7 separate regions of the Homo sapiens genome follow, and regions 2, 3, 4, 5, 6 and 7 are each linked to region 1. Evidence: promoter capture Hi-C in 16 types of primary human blood cells and fetal thymus (Javierre and others, 2016). All regions are on one chromosome and are shown on one strand. The core of a region is centred on a gene start or on the middle of the fragment in contact, and the rest is flanking DNA. Distances in the headings are between cores, read along the strand shown.

Region 1 (2,827 bases), core at 62-2,561:
AAACGTGGTGGCTAGTGCCTGTAATCCCAACACCTTGGGAGGCCAAGACGAGAGCATGGCTTGAGTCCAGGAGTTCAAGACCAGCCTAGGCAACCTGCTAGACTCCATCTCTACAAAAAAAAAAAAAAAAAATTAAAAATTAGCCGTGCATAGTGGCATGCGCCTGTAGTCCCAGCTACTACAGAGGCTGAGGTGAAAGGATTGCTTGAGTCCAGGAGTTTGAGGCTGCAATGAGCTATGATGGCATCACTGCACTCCAGACTAGCCAACAGAGCCAGACCCTGTCTCAAAAAGAAAAAAACGAAAAGAAAGAAAAGAAAAAAAATATCCACTGCTCTACTCTTCGGCCAGTGGGAAGAGTGCATTTTTTAATCAAAATAGGGGCCTCTATCCATGAAACCCATCAACTTGTAAAATCTGAGCTCTCTGCAGCCTCACAGTCCCTCCAGCACTGCCAGCAGCCCTCGTTCCCTGCATGCTCTAAATCCTCAGCGAAGACCCGTCCCTTGCTCCCTCGCCCAGCACAGGCCGCGAGTGCCCACGTCCCCTGCACCTCGTGGGGCAGCCAAGGGGGCACCGCGTGGCTCGTGTGCTCCTGGGCAGTCCATTTTCAACCACAAGACGGAACAGACTCAGAATCCGGAACATCTCTCGGTGCTTAAGAGTTTTCCTTTAACAATCTTTACCTGTGGGAATGCAGAGACCCCCCCGCCCTGCGAGAGGCCGGCAGCCAGGGATTCCCCGCTCCGCGCCCTCATCACCCCCCGGAAACCACAACCGCTGCGCGCGCGGCTCGGACCCCCACCCGCCGCTCCCCTCCAGCAGACCCTAGGCCTCCGGGAAACCGCGCGGCGACCGCCCCGCGCCCCGCCAGATCCGAACCGCCGGACCCGGCACCCCGGCCACACCCGCCGGTGTCGACGCAGCGAGGCTCGGAGGGTGCATTCTCCGCGCCGACCGCTCCCCTCCTCCAGACCCGAGGGGCGGAGTGGGCAGGGCGCGCCGGCTGCGCACCGGGCACCCACCTGGGGACGCGGGGGCTGGGGCGGCGCGGGGCCACCTGGCGGACCCGGGAGCGGACTCCGGAGAGCAGGGAGCCCCTCCCCCCTCACTCTCCGGGCCCCGCCCGGCCGCCGCGCCCCGAGGCGCAGCCATCCCGCGGGAGGGGAGGCGCAGGAGGAGGCCAGCGCGAGGACACTTACTTAAAAGGCTACATCGCTTCATTCCCAGCCCATCCTGGGCGACGGCGGCACCTCCCTCGTCCGCTGCTGGGACCTCGATGCCCACCACCCTCGCGCGGCGATCTGGCCCTATAGCCCACCCCTTACTCCGCCGTGGGGCGGAGCCGCGCCACAGCTGACCCAATGAGAAACCGTCGTTTCCCAGAGTGACGTGTACGCAGAGCAATCATGGAGTCCAGCCCAGCCGGGGGCGGGGCTCAGGCGGCTCCCTACGCTTCCTACTCCAGCTGGCCCCGCCCCACGCCCGCAACTGCGCGTGCCCAGAACGTGAGGGGCGGGGCTGGGAGCCGGGCTGACACTAGAGGTGGGGTTAGCGCTTGGAAGCACCGACCAACGTGAGCGCAACGCGGCAGGGACACCTGACCCCGGCGGCGCCCAGCCCCTCGGATTGCCAGTCACTGCTCGCTTTGGGGCACGGAGGTGCCCAGTCCTGCGGGGCACCCGACGTCCTGTCGCCGACAGGGTCCGGGAGTCAGTATAGCTGGGTTCTAGTCCCATCACAGGCAAAAACTCCGCGGGAGCCTGGCCCGCTTTTTACCTGGGCCTCAGTTTCCCCATCCGTAAAATAGAACGGGTTGGATCTCCCGAGCGCTAACATTCCAGAACTCGGATGGGGCGAAGGGGAGGGAGGGATGGGCCACCCACACGTGACCTCCCCGCGTGGAGCCCCGCCTACCACTGATCCAGGGGGTGGCAGCTCCGGCCGGGACGAGCGGGGTGGGCGGGTCCTAGGAAACCCTACCCGGCCGCCCTTGGCAGCGCCTAAGGCGGAGCGCGCGGCTCTGCAGCCTGCTTGCCCCGGAGTTGGCACCCACGGAGGATGGGGACCGCACCCTCAGCTTCGCAGGGAGCCACCGTGGAGGCCAGGGCGGTGCAGAGACACGACGTGTGACTCGGAGTGCGCCTGGGGAGGATGGACGAGGGAGCGGGGGACCGCTAACGGGGCTCCCTCTGCGCGCCCCGTCCGCAGAGGCGCACGTCGAGGGTCCCGGGCGGGCTCCGTGGACGTTGGCGGTAGCGCCGAGCGAGTCACGGACCATGAAGAGCGTTCGTGCCGCGCGGCCCAAGGCCGGGATGGGGGTTAGCCACATCCTGCCGCGCTGAGGGGGAGGCTAACGGGCGCGGGCGGCCGGGCCCAGCCGGAGCCCACCGCGATGGCGAGGGAGGAGTGCAAGGCGCTGCTGGACGGGCTCAACAAGACGACTGCGTGCTACCACCACCTGGTGCTGACCGTCGGTGGCTCGGCGGACTCGCAGAACCTGCGGCAGGAGCTGCAAAAGACGCGCCAGAAGGCGCAGGAGCTGGCGGTGTCCACCTGCGCCCGGCTGACTGCTGTGCTGCGCGACCGGGGCCTGGCCGCCGACGAGCGCGCCGAGTTCGAGCGGCTCTGGGTGGCCTTCTCGGGCTGCCTGGACCTGCTGGAAGCGGACATGCGACGCGCGCTGGAGCTGGGCGCCGCGTTCCCGCTGCACGCGCCGCGGCGGCCGCTGGTGCGCACAGGTGTGGCTGGCGCCTCCTCCGGCGTGGCGGCGCGCGCGCTGAGCACCCGCAGCCTGCGGCTCGAGGCGGAGGGCGACTTCGACGTC
Region 2 (2,700 bases), core at 132-2,631, 460 kb after region 1:
GTTACACGGCTGCAGCTCCCTGCTCTGAGGCCACCTCATGTGTACCAAGGAGACCTTTTTGAAAAATAAAGTGCAGACCAGGTGTGATGGCTAATGCCTGTAATCCCAGAGCTTTGGGAGGCCGAGGCGGGAGGATTGCTTGAGCCCAGGAATTCCAGACCAGCCTGGGCCACATAGAGACCCCTGTCTCCACAAAAAATAAAGTATTGAGCATTTGTATTTTACATTATGAAAGTAGCATCATAGATCACAACAATTTTAAAAGCAGAAAGAAGGAAGAGGCCGGGTGCGGTGGCCCATGCTTGTAATCCCAGCACTTTGGGAGGCCGAGGCCAGCGGATCACTTGAGGCCAGGAGTTCAAAAACAGCCTGGCCAACATGGCGAAACCTTGTCTCTACTAAAAATACAAAAAAATTAGCCAGGTCTGGTGAGCATACACCTGTAATCCCAGCTGTGTGGGAGGCTGAGGCACGAGAATCCTTTGAACCCTGGAGGTGGAGGTTGCAGTGAGCCGAAATTGCGCTACTGCAATCCAGCCTGGGTGACAGACTCTTGTCTCCACCAAAAAAAAAAAAAAAAAAAAAGAAGGAAGAAAATCACTTTTAGTTTTATCATCCAAAGATGACACCCTTCTTCAATATTTTGAATAATTCCACCCTGTCCTTTTCTAGCTATGGGGCTGTTATCTGACTGGTGGTAGCATTTTATTCCCTGTCACTGTTGTTGGGGTTGTGACAGATATTTCCCTCATCTATTATAAATGTTGTAAACCCACCCCTAATAACTGCATCTTATTTCATGCAGGGGCTACCCCATAACTTACTGACCTTTTCTGTTTTGTCATGAAGTGGGTTGGCCAGGAGCTGTACCCAGGCAGAGGACATGAAGAAATTGCCCTGTGACAGGAGCCAGGGAAACCACAGCGGAGGGCTGGAGGCTGGGGTGCTGGTTTTGCTGGCTCGGCCTGGTTCCCAGAATGCAAAGCCCATTTTTCTTTTTTTTGCAACCTCCACCTCCTGGGTTCAAGCCATTCCCCTGCCTCAGCCTCCCATGTAGCTGGAACTACAGGCGCACGCCCCCATGCCTGGCTAATTTTTGTTATTATTTTTTTTAAGTAAAGATGGGGTTTCACTAAACCTGTTGGCCAGGCTGGTCTCCAACTCCTGACCTCAGGTAATCCGCCCGCCTCGGCCTCCCAAAGTGCCGGGATTACAGGCGTGAGCCACCGCGCCCGGCTGCAAAGCCCATTTTTCTATAGGTAACCTGTGCTGCGCGGGGTGGCACTAGTTTTCACCCAGCGGGCGAGGAGGCAGCGAAGTCGCGGGCCCAGCGTAGCGCGCGCCTCCGAAGGGCTTGGTGCGGGCGCGGGCGCGGGCGCGCGGCGCCACCGTTCCCATCCAGGCTTGTCGGCGGCCACCGGCGGACCGGGCTTCGAGATGGCCTCCCCGCCGCGGTGCTCCCCGACAGCCCATGACAGGGAATGCAAGTTGCCGCCACCCTCCGCCCCCGCCAGCGAGTATTGTCCCGGCAAGCTGTCCTGGGGGACCATGGCGAGGGCCTTAGGCCGCTTCAAGCTGTCGATCCCGCACACGCACCTGCTGGCCACCCTCGACCCCCTGGCCTTGGACAGGGAACCACCACCGCATCTGTTGCCTGAGAAGCACCAGGTGCCGGAGAAATTGATCTGGGGCGACCAGGACCCTCTCTCCAAGGTCAGAACCGCCGCTGGGGTGAGGGGGCACTGGCCTGTTCCCCACACGGGAGGAAGGCGCTCGAGCTGTCGGGGGACCCATGGAAAACCCACCTGGCTTCACCAGGACCCCCAGCGAGGCCCTAGGCCCATTTCCCCATCTGTGGTACATCTGTGGGCAAAGGTCAGACCCACCTGAGCAGGGCGTGCTGGGGATGCCGGCGGGGGCTCCCCGCACTGCCACCTGCTGGGGAACCAGGACTCTTCGCTGGGAGGAGGCTCTGCCCCACCATGTGACCCCATCTAGACCTTGGAGTCTCCGTAGGTAGGCCCACCCACAGTGATGCTCCTAATTGCAGCCCAAGGGTCGGTGGCTCAGCTCTCCCCGTCCAGGAGATACAGTTAGCGTCAGAAGAAACGGGAAACTCAGAATAATAATAACAACAATGAATTGGGCCAGGCAAGGTGGCTCACACCTGTAATCCCAGCCCTTTGGGAGGCCCAGGTGGGAGGATCACTTGAGCCCAGGAGTTTGAGACCAGCCTGGGCAACATAGTGAGAGGTCGTCTCTACAAGAAATAAACTTAGCCCAGTGTGATGGGGCGCACCTGTGGTCCCAGCCACTTGAAAGGCTGAGGCAAGAGGATCCCTTGAACCCAGGAGTTTAAGGCTGCAGTGAGCTATGATTGTGCCACTGCACTCCAGCCTGGGCAACAGAGCGAGACTGTCTCCAGAATAAATAAATAAATAAATAAATAAATAAATAAATAAATATAGAGAGAGAGAGAGAAAGAAAGAAAGAAAAAGAAAAAGAAAGAAAGAAGGAGAAAGAAAGAAAAACTGGCTGGGTGCAGTGGCTCATGTCTGTAATCCCAGCACTTTGGGAAGCCGAGATGAGCAGATCACTTGAGGTCAAGGGTTCGAGACCAGCCTGGCTAACATGGTGAAACCCTTTCTCTACTAAAAATGCAAAAATTAGCCAGGCATGGTGGTGCGTGCCTGTAATCCC
Region 3 (2,837 bases), core at 92-2,591, 270 kb after region 1:
TCAGAAGTATGCAGGGGCTTTTAATGCCCACCACAAACCAGGCATCACTGCAGGAGCTGCAATCCCTCCCAACCACCACCTGTGTGCCAGGTGCACGTTCCCAAGTATGTGGGTGGCCACGGCCTCTCATCTCCAAATCCACCTTCATGGCCAGCTCATGTTACTGCAGCATTTCCACCCAGCCAGTTGGTACCATGGAAGGCTTCCTCTGTAGAGGGTGCTGGAGAGACGCTGGAGGAGCTGGGGCTTTGCTTTCTGATTCCAGCTTCCTCTGGCTCTTCCTTCCATGCATTAATTTCTTTTTTTAATTTCTGGTTTTAGAGTCCAAGGGTCTCACTATATTACCCAGGCTGGATTCGAACTCCCAGGCTCAAGTAATCTTCCCGCCTTGGCCTCCCAAGGAGCTGGGATTACAAATGGGATTTCATGCGCAGATCCTTTCTTTAATTTTTTGGGTGGCCAGCAACATGCAGTACCTCCCCATGGTGGCTTCTCCTGGCCCCCTATCCCAGTGAGTTTCATTAGGGCAGCCCCTCAGCAAACTTCTTGGCCACCCGGCAGGCCACAGCTACATCCTCTCCAGGAAGGTGTGGATCTTGGGTTCTGGCTGAGGCTCCTCCAGAGCTGCTTCCTCCTGAAGCATCAGCCCTAGGAGCAGTGGCTGCTCCCCTGAGCTGCTACTCCTGAATTCTTCAGTATTCTCTTTACTCCTTAGTAGGCAATCCTGTTGTTATTATTATTATTATTTTTAGAGACAGGGTCTCACTCTGTCACCTAGGCTGGAGTGCAATGGCACTATCACATCTCACTGCAGCCCTGACCTCCTTCCTGGGCTCAAGTGATCCTCCCATCTCAGCCTCCTGCATAGCTGGGACTACAGGTGTGAGCCACCATGCGCAGCTCCCAAACCTGTTATTATTAATCATTCTTTATAGTAAATTTTCCCTCTTCAAGTCATTGTGTGTGTTCTGACTCCTGATTGGACCTTGACTGATATATGCTACATCAGGCCACACAATGCAGATGTTACACAAGGCAGGAGAGAACCAAATCTGGGGACATAGAAAGACATTTGGCATGTGTTGTGAGATGAAAGAAAGGTAACAAAACAGCATGCACTTTATATACATATACTCTCTAAATTGTTAAAAATCTTATCTGTGGGAGCACAATTAAGTGTGTTTAGCTTTATGATATGGTCTGGCTGTGTCCCCACTCACATCTCATCTTGAATTGTAGCTCCCATAATTCCCTCATATTGTCGGAGGGACCCAGTGGGAGATAATTGAATCATGGGGCGGTTTCCCCCATACTGTTCTCGTGGTAGTGAATAAGTCTCATGAAATCTGATGGTTTTATAAGGGGAAACCCCTTTCTCTTGGTTCTCATTCTCTCTTGTCTGCTTCCATGTAAGATGTGCCTTTCACCTTCTGCCATGACTGTGAGGCCTCCCCAGCCACGGGGAACTATGAGTCCATTAAACTTCTTTTTCTTGATAAGTTACCCAGTCTTGGGTATGTCTTTATCAGCAGCGTGAAAACGGACTAATGCACTTTATATATTTATGTATTTTTTTTACAGTGAGACAGTATTACTTTTGTAATTTAAAAAGAGATGCACCTTTTACATAAATCTAATATTTAAAAAATACGCCAACTGACCAACAGGTGTTTTCTGGCCCCAGGATTATGAGGCTGGCATTCTGTGTTCCCTGAGAAATGATTTACAGAAACGTTTCCCTGAGCCCGAGCAACTCTAGGGCTGCTGATAAAGTAGTTATTGGTTGTCCACTTGATGCCTGGCTCTCCTTGTCACTTCTCAAATGTGAGCCACCTCTTAGGAAACTGAAAACTTTTCCCTACCTTTGTTATAACATGCTGAATTCTCTCATTGGGATAATCAAATAGATATATGTCCACGTACTCATTCACCCAACAGATCTTTCCTAGTGGGCCACTGTGGGCCAGGTCTTTCCCCAAGCACTGGGACTAGGGAGACCCTATCCTATCCCTACCTCTATTGCTTAAACCCAGGAGTTCAAGACCAGCCTAGTTAACATGGCAAAAAAAAACAGCACCTTGTACTTTAAAAACAACCTAATATCCAGAAGCAATTGACTGCAGAATAACTTTTCCTTTTTTTTTGAGATGGGGTTTCACTCTGTCACTCAGGCTGGGGTACAATGGTGCGATCTCAGCTCACTGCAGCCTCTGCCTCCAGGGCTCAAGCAATCCTCCCACCTCAGCCTCCTGACTAGCTAGGACCACAGGTACATGCCACCATACCTGGCTACTTTTTTGTATTCTGGTAGAGATGGGATGTCCATTTTTTGTAGAGAGAGTCTATGTTGCCCAAGCTGGTCTCAAACTCCTAAGCTCAAGAGATCTACCCACCTTGGCCTCCCAAAGTACTGGGATTACAGGAGCGAGCCACCACACCCAGCCTTATTTTCTTGAGACAGGGTCTCATTCTGTCACCCAGGCTGGAATGCAATGGTGCAATCATGGCTTGCTGCAGCCCTGACCTTCCGAGCTCAAGTGATCCTCCCACCTCGCCCTTCTGAGTAGCTGGGACTGTAGGCGTGCACCACCTTGCCTGGCTGATGTTTTTATTTTTACTTTTTGTACAGACGATGTCTCCCTGTGTTGCCCAGGCTGCTTTCAAATTCTTGAGCTCAAGGGATCCTCCAGCCTTGGCCTTCCAAAGTGCTAGGATTACAGGCGTGAGCCACCACACCTGGACCCTCATTTTCAATAAAAAATAAATTTCAATTATATTCCTAGTTAAAATCACAGAGCTACAGCATGAAGGGGCAATGGGTATGTTTTCCTAAAAAT
Region 4 (2,700 bases), core at 149-2,648, 270 kb before region 1:
GTACATTTATTATCCTCATAGTCTCTGTGTGTCAAATACTTGGGAGTGGCATAGATGGGCACTTCTGGCCCAAGATCTCTTATGCCGCCATCTGAAGGCTGACCTGTAGCTGGCCGATCTATTAGGTTGGTGCAAAAGTAATCTTGGTTTTTGCCATTACTTTTAATGTCCCACCAACCTAATACTTCCAAGATGGCTCACTCCCATGGCTGCCAAGGTGGTGCAGGCTGTTGCCTACGTGGCCTTCTCTACAGGCAGTTTGAGTGTCCTCACTACATGGTGGCTGGCATCCCCGCTAAGTGAGCAATCCAAGAGAGGCTAAGGCTGAAACTGGGATGTCTTTTATGACTTAGCCTCAGAAGTCCCACACTGTCACTTCCACGGTATTCTGTTGTTCACAAAGAAAAACCATGATTCTGTGGAACCGGATACTGTATGAGGATAAACATGAGGCAGCACAGATCGTGTAAGCTGAGGTCTAAAGGCTGAAGAGTACCTAGTCAATTAAAGAGGGTTTAAGACTTTTTATAAGCCACGTGACAAACCTCTGACAGAGGTTTATGTGAATAGAAAGTGAAGGAGAGGTTGAAGAGGGAAACAGAGCCTGATTCGTGGCAGTCCTTACAAGCTGTGTCATGGAGCTTAATTTTTATAATAAAGCCAAAACGCCTCCAAGGGATTTATATTTTAGTAAGATCACTATGGTTATTACATACAGGTAAATGGACTACGGTGGTGGCAACAGAGATGAGCAAAGTGAACAAGATCTGAGGTATTTACGAGATAAATGCCAACAGGACTCAATGGATGATTGGATGTGTGGATTACACAATAGAGAGGAATCAAGGATGGCTTCTAGGCTCTTGATTTGAGCAATAAGGTAAATGGAGCACACAGAAGGAACCGCAAGTGTGGGGATTAGAAAAAGGTTTAACATGTTGAGTTTGAGGTGTTTACACACATGGAAATGTCCAATAGGCAGTGGACATATGGCACCTGGAGACCAGGAGATACACCTGGACATAAAAACAGGAGTTATCAGAGTATCAGTGGAAATCAGATCCACGGGCCACAGAATCATTGATTTTTAAGAGGAAGAGGAGGCCAGGCATGGTGGCTCATGCCTGTAATCCCAACAATTTGGAAGGCTGAGGCAAGAGGATCGCTGCAGCCCAGGAGTTTGAGACCAGCCTGGGCAACAGAGAGACCCCCTGCCACCCCCAATCTTTACAAAAAAATTTTTAAAAAATTAGTCAGGCATGGTGGTGCATGCCTGTAACCTAGCTATTCTGGAAGATGAGATGGGAGGATTGCTTGAGCCTTTGAGAGCAAGGCTGCACTGAGCCATGATTCAGCCACTGCACTCTAGGCTGGATGACACAGTAAGTCCTCTTTCCAAAAAGGGAGAAGGGAGGAGAAGAAGAAAGAAGAGAGGAGGAGGAGGAAGAACAGGAGGAAGAGGAAGAAGAAGGAAGAGGAAGAAAGAAGAAAAGAAGAAAGAAGAGAAAGAGAAGGGAGGAGGGAGGAGGAGTAGCTGCATGAAACTTAAAAGGAATGCCTGAAAGGTAGACAGAGGAAACACGCACAGTCTGTTGTCACAGAAGGCAGGAATGATGGAGAGTGTTTATACTAAGTCAAACAATTGAAAAATGAACACTGGGCTGGGCGCAGTGGAGGACACCTGTAATCCCAGCACTTTGGGAGGCCAAGGCAGGTGGATGACTTGAGATCAGAAGTTTGAGACCAGCCTGGCCAACATGGTGAAGCTCTGTCTCTACTAAACATACAAAAATTAACCGGGCGTGGTGGCCAGCACGTGATGCCAGCTACTCAGGAGGCTGAGACAGGAGAATCGTTTCAATCCGGGAGACGGAGGTTGCAGTGAGCCGAAATCACCCCACTGCACACCAGCCTGGGTGACAAAGTTAGACTCTACCTCAAAAAGTTAAAATAAATAAAATTTTTAAAATGGACATCATGTATCAGACAGGAAAAAGCCAGTAAGACGGAAGAACTCACACCCTCGGGATCCCAAGACAAGATACTTCCATGGGATGGATGTAATGAACAGTGTTAAAAGATTTCTGGTGCAGTGCTTCTCAAAGTGTGATGTACACATAAATGACCTGGGGGTCATATTAAAATGCAGATTTTGGCTACACAGGTCTTGGGTAGGACCTGAGACCTGGCTTTTCTCAGAAGACCCCAGGTGATGCCCATGCTGCACAGCCCACAGACCACATGTTGAGTAACAAGGTTCTGCTGTGGTTCCCAAACTTTTCCGAGCACAGAATTATCTGGAAAACTTCTGTACTAGTCCATACAGCTATACATACTGCTATAAAGGATACTGCTACAAAGAATGCCCAAGACTGGGTAATTTATAAAGGAAAGAAGTTTAATTGACTCACAGTTCAGCATGGCTGGGGAAGCCTCAGAAAACTTACAAACATGGCAGAAGGCAAAGGGGGAAGCAAGGCACTTTCCTCACAAGGAGGCAGGAAGAAGTGCTGAGCGAAGAGGCAAGATCCCCTTATAAAACCATCACATCTTGTGAGAACTCACTATCATGAGAACAGCATGGGGGAAGCTGCCTCCATAATTCAATTACCTCCACCTGGTCTCTCCCTTGAAAGGTGGGGATTATGGGAATTACAATTCAAGATGAGATTTGGGTGTGGACATAAAGCCTAACCATAT
Region 5 (2,859 bases), core at 77-2,576, 430 kb after region 1:
AGGTGTCTCGTATAATTGGCAAACAGAACCCTTGGTTCCCCACCCCCATCACACACTGCGCTTCCTCATCTAAGTCTTCTCATCTCAGGAAGTGGTGCCACCATGATCCACTGCTCGGACCAGGATGTAGGAGGCCTAATTCTTTTTTTTTTCTTAATTTTTAATTTTTATTTTTTTTTATTATACTTTAAGTTCTAGGGTACATGTGCACAACGTGCAGGTTTGTTACATGTGTATACATGTGCCACGTTCGTGTGCTGCACCTATTAACTCGTCATTTACATAAGGTATATCTCCTAATGCTATCCCTCCCCGCTTCCCCGGGAGGCCTAATTCTTAGCTCCTCTCTTTTCGGTCCTCCCGCACCCTCCCTGACCCTCCTTGGCCCTTAGTGAGTCCTCTCGGCTCTACCCACACGTGTGGGGGTTCTGTCCACTACTCATCTGCATTTCCGTGGCCTCCCGGGTCTGAGCCCCACCCCTCCACCTGGACCGTTGCTGCAGTCTCCTTGGTGGTCTCCTTGTTTCCTGTCCATCTCCCGTAGACTGTTCCCCTCACCAGCAGCTGGATGAGGCCAACTATACCAGCCAACACCTCTCCCACCTACAGAAACCTCCAGGCTCCCCACGAGGCCCTGTGCGGCCCCGCCCCTGCCCGCCTTTCAGGCTGCACCATCCACCACCTTCCCTTACCCTCCCACAGTGTAGCGTCTTCCTCCTCCTTTCCTCCCCTGGAACACGCCGTCATCCATGACACTGCCTAAGGGCCTTTGTGTTTGCTGTACCTCCCTTTCTGTTCTTCCCTCATATTTTTGTGAATCTGGCTCTTTTTTTTTTTAGCTTATGACTTATCTCGAATGTTACTTTCTTCCAGCCTTCCCCGACCACCATATAATCTGGTTATCTGCCTGTCCCCTCTACCAGCCCGCTCACACAAGCCCCCCTCAGTCACATCGTCCTGTTTTTTTCATAGCCCTCCTCTATTGAGGGCCAGCGTATTGCTCCTGGGCTTCTTTCGTGTCTCCACTGCCCTCCAAGCTCCTGGGCCAGGTCCTGGCATAGAGCTGGCACTCATGAGTGTTTGTCCCATTGGTGAGGGCTTGCTGGGGAGCTGTACTCGGAACCAGGGCTAGTGGTGGTGGACTGCAGGTCTGGAGCCGGGGATGTCAGGTTCCCCATCCTGGAATCACTCACGTGCCCTGTAAGTGTGCATGTATTAACTTCCATTTTTGCTGACTATAAAACAGGAATCTTGGCTGGACACAGTGGCTCATGCCTGTAGTCCCAGAACTTTGGGAGGCCAAGGTGGGATGATCTCTTGAGCCCAGGAGTTGAGACCAGCTTGGGAAACATGGCGTAATCCCGTCTACAAAAAATACAAAAAGTAGTCGGGCATGGTGGTGTGTACCTGTGGTCCCAGCTACTCAGGAGGCTGAGGTGGGAGGATCACTTGAGCCTGAGAGGTGGAGGTTGCAGTGAGCCATGATCACACCACCGTACTCCAGTCCAGGTGACACAGCGAGACCATGTCTCAAAAAAAACATAGGAATTGGCCAGGCGTGGTGGCTCACGCCTGTAATCCCAGCACTTTGGGAGGCCGAGGCGGGTGGATCACCTGAGGTCAGGAGTTTGAGACCAACCTGGCCGACATGATGAGACCCTGTCTCTACTAAAAATATAAAAAATTAGCCAGGCATTGTGGCACATGCCTGTAGTCCCGGCTACTCGGTGGGGATGAGACAGGAGAATTGCTTGAACCCAGGAGGTTGCAGTGAGCTGAGATGGTACCATTGCACTCCAGGCTGGGCAATAGAGCGAGACTCCATCTAAAATAATAATAATAATAAGAAGAAGAATCTCAATTTTTATCACTGTCTAGTCCACAGGGACATATTAATATAAATGAAACACTAAACATAAAATCCTCATCCCCAATTATGTAAATTTGTGTTATTGAAATGTATGTACAGAGAAACGTAAATGTGGTTGTCTCATGGCTCTTTTCATCTCTTCTAATTACTGTTTTTATTTAGGTTCAGCTACTTCAGTGTTAGAATTTCTGTCCCAAAAAGACAAAGAGAGAATCAAAGAAATGAAGCAGGCAACTGACCTGAAAGCAGCTCAGCTCAAGGCCAGGAGTCTGGCCCAGAACGCTCAGAGCAGCAGAGCCCAGCTCTCCCCTGCAGCGGCTGCTGGGCACTGCTCTTGGAACATGGCATTAGGTGGTGGGACGGCCACCTTAAAAGCCAGCAACTTCAAGCCTTTCGCCAAAGATCCGGAAAAGCAAAAGCGATACGACGAGTTCTTAGTACACATGAAACAGGGTCAGAAAGGTGGGTGCTGGGCCTGGGTGTCCCAAATCTCGGCCCGGGCGGGGTCATATTCTCACTGTTCTCATCCTAGACCCATATTTACAGTTGAGGTATCCTGTTCTGTCAGTGTTTTTGCTTTATCCTGCTGCAAATAGTGCAAAGGTTTCAGGCCTTGGCTCTTGACCTCAGAAAGCAAGAACAGTTGGCTTATGTTCCTCCATATCTCAGGCCAAAGCTAGCTGTTTAAGTAGAGAACACAGCTGGCGGTGGCCGGTACTTACAGGCCGTTTGGTGTTTGCAAGTGCTTGACTGCTACAAGCATTGCATTCACATTTCATATCAGCATCATCTTCCACCTCATCCGAAGATCCTAACCATCCATTCCTGACTCATAGTCTAAAATATGACTTAAAACAATAGTTAGCTATTGAACCGTTACAGAGGGAAAACAATCACTTTGTGATCTGTGAAGTAAATAGGGCAAGAATGAGGCAAGAATGAGGAAAGGGGTTGCTGTTGTATGCAGTAGTCCTCGTGAGAGGTTATCA
Region 6 (2,700 bases), core at 82-2,581, 310 kb before region 1:
GTTCAGTTTATATCTGCTGATAGTGTATATGCAGGAAAACCTATAAAACCACTTCAGACTTGTTAAAACAGTGAGAAAGCCGTGATTGAAATATTAATACAACTGTGTGGTATAAATTTTCATTTACAATGGAATGTAAATGCTGTCATTTGAATCTTGTCAAAGCCTGCTACTAAAACTCTGAAATACCTTGTCTAGGGAATAAGTCTTCAGTCCAGAAACAATATAGATGTGATGTGTGTGATTATACAAGTACAACATATGTTGGTGTCAGAAACCACAGGCGAATCCATAACTCTGATAAGCCGTACAGGTAAGTGTTATGATTCTAGAATTTTAATGTTTGTATTAAAATATTTTATATTAAAGAAATAAAATGAAATAAAAATGTATAGCACTTACTGAAACACAGGTTAAGAAGTAAGAAATTTTCACTAATTGGTTTTATATTTTGTTGTTTTATATATTTACTTATTTATTTTTTGAGTCAGTGTCTTGCTGTATTGCCCAGGCTGGAGTGCAGTGGTATGATCACAGCTCACTGCAGCCTCGAACTCCTGGCCTCAAGGGATCCTCCCACATCAGCCTCCCAAAGTGCTGGGATTGCAGGCGTGAGCCACTGCACCTGGCTGGTATTATGTCTTGTTTGATTTGTTAAGATGTGAACTTTAAGCTTGAATCTTAGGACAGTAGGCATTTTGTCTAGTTGATACATAGGAAATTGTCTTTATCTGTCAATTTTATGTTTTCATTTCATATGGGTATAAATTTCATAGCAATTTTCAATGCCTTAGAGTTCATTTCAGTAATTTGGCAGTAAGGTACTCAGTATTCAGCAAAAGATCCTTAAAACTTAAAGGCAATAAAATTTTCTATGAAAGAGTCCATTTTTCAAAATTAAGCTAGTATGTGTAGAATAAGTCATTTAATTTCATTACTTGATTTTTCCCAAAAGCAAATTCAGATATATATTTCAGAAAATATAGGCATTCTCAGTGATAGTGCTAGGCAATGCGCATGAACTTTCACCCCCTTGTCAAAACTTAGCAGGTTTAACTCTCTCCCCAGATTCTGTAGATATGATACAAGTGAGTGTGGGAAAGTTATTGTATTAATCTCAATGAAAACCTGACAGATTGTGCCATAAAAGGTCATTGTTTAATCCCAAAGTGTGGTGATCTGTGTATGGTTTCGAATATTTAATATGTGCTTAATTTGCAAACCAGCAGACTTACTTATAATCACTCTTCAGAAAGTACATCTGTTTGCAGAGTCTTAAAACTCTGTGGAAGGTGTTTGACCTTGCCTCAGTCCTCCTCAGTGTCTTCCTTCCTTCCTTCTTTCCTTCCTTCCTTCTTTTCTTCCTTCCTTCCTTTCCTTCCTTCCTTTCCTTCCTTTCCTTCCTTCCTTTCCTTTCTTCCTTTCCTTCCTTTCCTTTCCTTCCTTTCCTTTTCTTCCCTCCCTCCCTCTCTCCCTCCCTCCTTCCTTCCTTTCCTTCCTTCGTTTCCTTCCTTCCTTTCCTTTCTTCCTTTCCTTTCTTCCTTTCCTTCCTTCCTTTCCTTCCTTTCCTTTCCCTCCCCTCCCTCCCTCCCTCCCTCCTTCCTTCCTTCCTTCCTTCCTTTTTTTCTTTGACAGAGTCTCGCTCTGTCATCACCCAGGCTGGAGTGCAGTGGAGTGATCTCACCTCACGGCAACCTCCGCCTCCCGGGTTCAAGTGATTCTCATGCCTCAGCCTCCCAAGTAGCTGGGACCACAGGCATGTGCCATGATTAGCTAATTAGAGACGGGGTTTCGCCAGGTCTTGAACTCCTGGCCTCAAGTGTCCGCCCACCTTGGCCTCCCAAAGTGCTGGGATTACATGGTTACACCATGTCCAATCAGTCTATTTAATAGGTGGGACTGAGTATATTTACATTCGTGATTTATACTGGGAAATGTTTAGGAGAATGTGATGGAAACAGGGAACACTAGTTTACCTGATAGGAGGAGAAAGCTTTGCCTTTATATTTTTGGTATCCTTGAATTTAGACATACCGTGCCAGATTCATGTGATTTAAGTAAGAAGAAAATAACATTTCTCCGGGTCCAGAATTAGATTGTTCTTTCATTCATGGAGAAATATTTATTGAGCAAATATTATGCTTCAGGGGCCGTGCTAGATTCTTGGACTACAGTCATAACAAAACAGACGTCATCTTTGCTGTCATGGAACTTGTAGACAAACAATAAGCAAGTAAACCCTCAAATACTTAGGAAAAAGGTTAGCGATTCTAGTTCTGTTGAAGGTTTTACATCTGCTTTATTAGATCAGTCTTGCAGCTTAAAGATTCATTTTGATAGCTGTCAGTGTCTCAGGGATGTTTTCTTGTGTTCTTAAAATATTCACAGATTCATAGGATTCATTGCAGTTGTCCTAGGGTCTTCCTACCAACGGGCAACATCCCGTGAGCATCCTCTTTGTGTAACATCAGAGAACTCTCAGTCTGTTATTTTCCAAATTTATTCACACTCCACTTTGTCACTGGGTTTGGTGTGGTTATGCCTTAGATACAGTTTTGTCATATCTCCCTCTTTGTACTTATTATCAGTTTTTCCTCATAAGTCTTATTTTCTAATGTCATGGCTCTCCTTTTAACTTTCTTTAAATACTCACCATCCTTTGCCTTCATGGGATTTCTGGTCGCAGAGCATTACGGATTA
Region 7 (2,784 bases), core at 14-2,513, 410 kb after region 1:
AAGACCAGCCTGGCCAACATGGTGAAACCCAGTCTCTACTAAAAATACAAAAAAAAAAAAAAAAAAAAAAAAAAATGGCCGGGTGCGGTGGCTCACATCTGTAATCCCAGCACTTTGGGAGGCCAAGGTGGATGGATCGCCTGAGGTGGGGAGTTCGAGACCAGCCTGACCAACATGGACAAACCCCGTCTCTACTAAAAAAAAAATTACAAAATTAGCCAGACATAGTGGTGCATGCCTGTAATCCCACCTACTAGGGAGGCTGAGGCAGGAGAATCGCTTGAACCCGGGAGGCGGAGGTTGAGGTGAGCCGAGATCGTGCCATTGCACTCCAGCCTGGGCAACAAGAGTGAAACTCTGTCTCAAGAAAAAAAAAAAAAAAACCACCACAACAACCAACCAACCAAACAAACAAAAATTTAGCAGGGCGTGGTGGGGTGGACGCTTATAATCCCAGCTATCAGGAGGCTGAGGCAGGAGAATCACTTGAATCTGGGAGGCGGAGGTTGCAGTGAGCTGAGATCGCGGCCACTGCACTCCAGCCTGGGCGACAGAGCGAGACTCTGTCTCAAAAAAAAAAAAAAAAAAAAAGGGAATAACACCAGGGCCTACTTGAGGGTGGACCTACTTGAGGGTGGAAGGTACGAGGAGGGTGAGGATCGGAAAAACTACCTATTGGGTACTATGCTTATTACCTGGGGAGGAAATAATCTGTAACCCAAATCCCTTGCGACATGCAATTTACCTATATAACAAACTTGCACATGTACCCCTGAACCCAAAATAAAAGTAAAAAATAATAATAATAAAAATAAAGCGAAGCCCCACGGGGCGAGCATGAAATCTGGGAGCTCAGCCATTTCCCTGGAGGTGGCTGGGTGGGCGGTGGGAGTGGACGGGGCTGGGCAGTGACTGCTGCCAAGGCAGGGGGCTGGCGCGAGGGACGGGGGTAGGGGGCTGGGCAGGCATCGGTGTCGCCTCGCAGGGAACAGTTGGGTGGCTTCCAGCTTATGCCAGGAGTCTCCTCCTCACCCGCACATCGCGGGGCTAGGATGGGATGTCGTGGCTGCCAAATCCTCCGAGGCAACTCCTGCCTGGGACGGCCTACCACAGGATGGGCCTGAGAATCCGGAGCGCAGGCTCGGGCCGCTAGGACACCTTCCCCCGCCCGCGGACCCAGCCTTCCAGCATCACCGGGGTTCGCGGAGGAGAAAGAGGAAAGGCGTTTGGCCTGCCAAGGCCGCCGTAGCGAGGGGGCGGGGCCCGGAAGAGCAGGATGGCGGCGCGGGACAGTGACAGCGAAGAAGATCTGGTCAGCTATGGGACCGGGCTGGAGCCTCTGGAAGAAGGTGCGGGCCGCGTGGGCCGGCGGAGCCTGTGGAAAACAGGCCAAGGGCCCAGGATTCGGGCCACAAAAGCACAAGTCGGTGCTGGACCATTGTTAGATCGTTCCCAGCGCTGGGAACACGGCGACGAGGGAGGCGTTAGCCGCGCTCTCGGGGTGCTCACCTTCTGCAGCGACAGAGAGAGGTTTACAGGGACGGGAGACACAAGCGTGGCCGAACAAGGGGGCGGCGAGATAGAAACAAGAAAATGACGGAATAGCTAGTGTGAGAGCGGGGGGTGCTCAGGCAGTGTCTTCCCCGAGAGAGGACGTTTGAGCTCAGACTTGAAACCGAGGAAGAAAACAACCATGAGCAAATCTGGAGGGAAAGCATTTCAGGCAGAAGGAACATAAAGTGGCAAAGGCCCTGAAGTGGGAGCCAGTTTAGGAAATTGAGGGGCAGGCAGGACGGGTATGGTTGCAGCAGATGACAGCGGGGGAGACAGGTAGAAAAGAATGTCAGAGGGGCTGACAGGGGCTGGATCTTACTTGGTAGGGTAAAGAGTTTGGATCTTGTACTAAGTGCAGGATTAGGGTTAGGGTTAGGGTCATGGGAAATTACACAGGGAGGGATATATATATGATTTTTAGAGACAGGGTTTTGCTCTGTTTCCCAGGCTGGTCTTGAACTCCTGACTTCAAGTGATCCTCTCGCTTCTGCCTCCCAAAGTGCAGGGATTACAGGCTTGAGCCACTGTGCTCGGCCAATTTTTAATGTTATTCTATCTTTGATGTTGAGAATACACTGGTTGGGGATGGGTAAGAGTGAAGCAGGGAGATTAGCAAAAAGAGGTCAGGAGATGATGGTGGCATGGATGGGACAGCAGTGGTGGTGGTGTGTAGTGGTCTGGGTGGAGATATATTTTGAAAGCAGAGCTGACCATACTTGCTGGTGGAATGTGGGGGTGAGGGGCAAGATGAATCAAGGTTCTCTCCTGTGTTTCTGGTCTGTTCCACTTAACGACTTGACTTGTTCAGCAAGTTATGTATTGAGTGTCCAGTAAGGGCTGTTGGCTGTGCTAGCCCTGTAGGGAAGGCAGAGGAAGAATGGTGGAATCATTGGGCCACAATTTATTTGCAGACCTCCTGTTGGTGGGGGTCCCCTCCCTTTTTTCACCCTGACCACATCCTGCCAGGTTGATTGTACTTCTGGGATATCTCCACTTATGCCCCCTTTATTTCCTACAAACAGTTCTGGTGGAAACTTCTGCTGGATACTGGCCCTTCTTCTACCCTCGGCTTACAAAAGGTTGAGAAAGGGGCCAGGCACAGTGGTTCACACCTGTAATCCCAGCACTCTGGGAGGCTGAGGTGGGAGGATTGCTTGAGGTCAGGAGTTTGAGACCAGCCTGGGCATTGTAGTGAGACTCTGTCTGTAACAAACAAACAAACAAACGAAA

The links. The method cuts DNA at HindIII sites, captures the fragments that hold promoters and counts their contacts. A CHiCAGO score of 5 or more calls a contact.
Region 2: a contact is called between the fragment with the promoter of WDR88 here and the fragment with the promoter of ANKRD27 in region 1, in 2 of 17 cell types (erythroblasts and fetal thymus). The highest score is 6.9, in erythroblasts.
Region 3: a fragment that was not itself captured here is called in contact with the fragment with the promoter of ANKRD27 in region 1 in 4 of 17 cell types (total CD8 T cells, total CD4 T cells, non-activated CD4 T cells and 1 more); the score reaches 7.2 in total CD8 T cells.
Region 4: a contact is called between a fragment that was not itself captured here and the fragment with the promoter of ANKRD27 in region 1, in 1 of 17 cell types (total B cells). The highest score is 5.4, in total B cells.
Region 5: a fragment that was not itself captured here is called in contact with the fragment with the promoter of ANKRD27 in region 1 in 8 of 17 cell types (total CD4 T cells, fetal thymus, total CD8 T cells and 5 more); the score reaches 10.0 in total CD4 T cells.
Region 6: a contact is called between a fragment that was not itself captured here and the fragment with the promoter of ANKRD27 in region 1, in 1 of 17 cell types (total B cells). The highest score is 7.6, in total B cells.
Region 7: a contact is called between the fragment with the promoter of GPATCH1 here and the fragment with the promoter of ANKRD27 in region 1, in 10 of 17 cell types (fetal thymus, naive CD8 T cells, activated CD4 T cells and 7 more). The highest score is 16.2, in fetal thymus.

What each region holds. Positions count from the first base shown.
Region 1 is chr19:32,673,869-32,676,695 of GRCh38, forward strand. It overlaps ANKRD27 (ankyrin repeat domain 27), which reads right to left and starts at 1,312. Exons shown (of 29, transcript NM_032139.3): 1 at 1,203-1,312. RGS9BP (regulator of G protein signaling 9 binding protein) reads left to right here and starts at 1,980. Exons shown (of 1, transcript NM_207391.3): 1 at 1,980-2,827. The coding sequence starts at 2,396. RefSeq lists silencers at 797-846, 867-1,596, 2,167-2,226 and enhancers at 1,240-1,859, 1,747-1,856, 2,627-2,676. The HindIII fragment of the contact is 4,511 bases long and covers 1-2,827 here.
Region 2 is chr19:33,130,733-33,133,432 of GRCh38, forward strand. WDR88 (WD repeat domain 88) reads left to right here and starts at 1,382. Exons shown (of 11, transcript NM_173479.4): 1 at 1,382-1,713. The coding sequence starts at 1,438. RefSeq lists an enhancer at 1,219-1,388. The HindIII fragment of the contact is 21,697 bases long and covers 1-2,700 here.
Region 3 is chr19:32,945,365-32,948,201 of GRCh38, forward strand. All of the region lies in intron 5 of CEP89 (centrosomal protein 89), which reads right to left. Among named protein-coding and RNA genes, the nearest start is that of CEP89, 25 kb to the right of the region's middle. The HindIII fragment of the contact is 3,728 bases long and covers 1-2,837 here.
Region 4 is chr19:32,400,738-32,403,437 of GRCh38, forward strand. The region is part of intron 1 of DPY19L3-DT (DPY19L3 divergent transcript); the gene reads right to left. Among named protein-coding and RNA genes, the nearest start is that of DPY19L3-DT, 3.5 kb to the right of the region's middle. The HindIII fragment of the contact is 3,509 bases long and covers 1-2,700 here.
Region 5 is chr19:33,107,685-33,110,543 of GRCh38, forward strand. It overlaps GPATCH1 (G-patch domain containing 1), which reads left to right. Exons shown (of 20, transcript NM_018025.3): 11 at 2,033-2,332. Among named protein-coding and RNA genes, the nearest start is that of WDR88, 23 kb to the right of the region's middle. The HindIII fragment of the contact is 7,119 bases long and covers 1-2,859 here.
Region 6 is chr19:32,360,306-32,363,005 of GRCh38, forward strand. ZNF507 (zinc finger protein 507) reads left to right here. Exons shown (of 7, transcript NM_001136156.2): 5 at 199-313. Among named protein-coding and RNA genes, the nearest start is that of ZNF507, 16 kb to the left of the region's middle. The HindIII fragment of the contact is 1,320 bases long and covers 672-1,991 here.
Region 7 is chr19:33,079,918-33,082,701 of GRCh38, forward strand. It overlaps GPATCH1 (G-patch domain containing 1), which reads left to right and starts at 1,264. Exons shown (of 20, transcript NM_018025.3): 1 at 1,264-1,349. The coding sequence starts at 1,277. RefSeq lists an enhancer at 1,159-1,488. The HindIII fragment of the contact is 10,253 bases long and covers 1-2,784 here.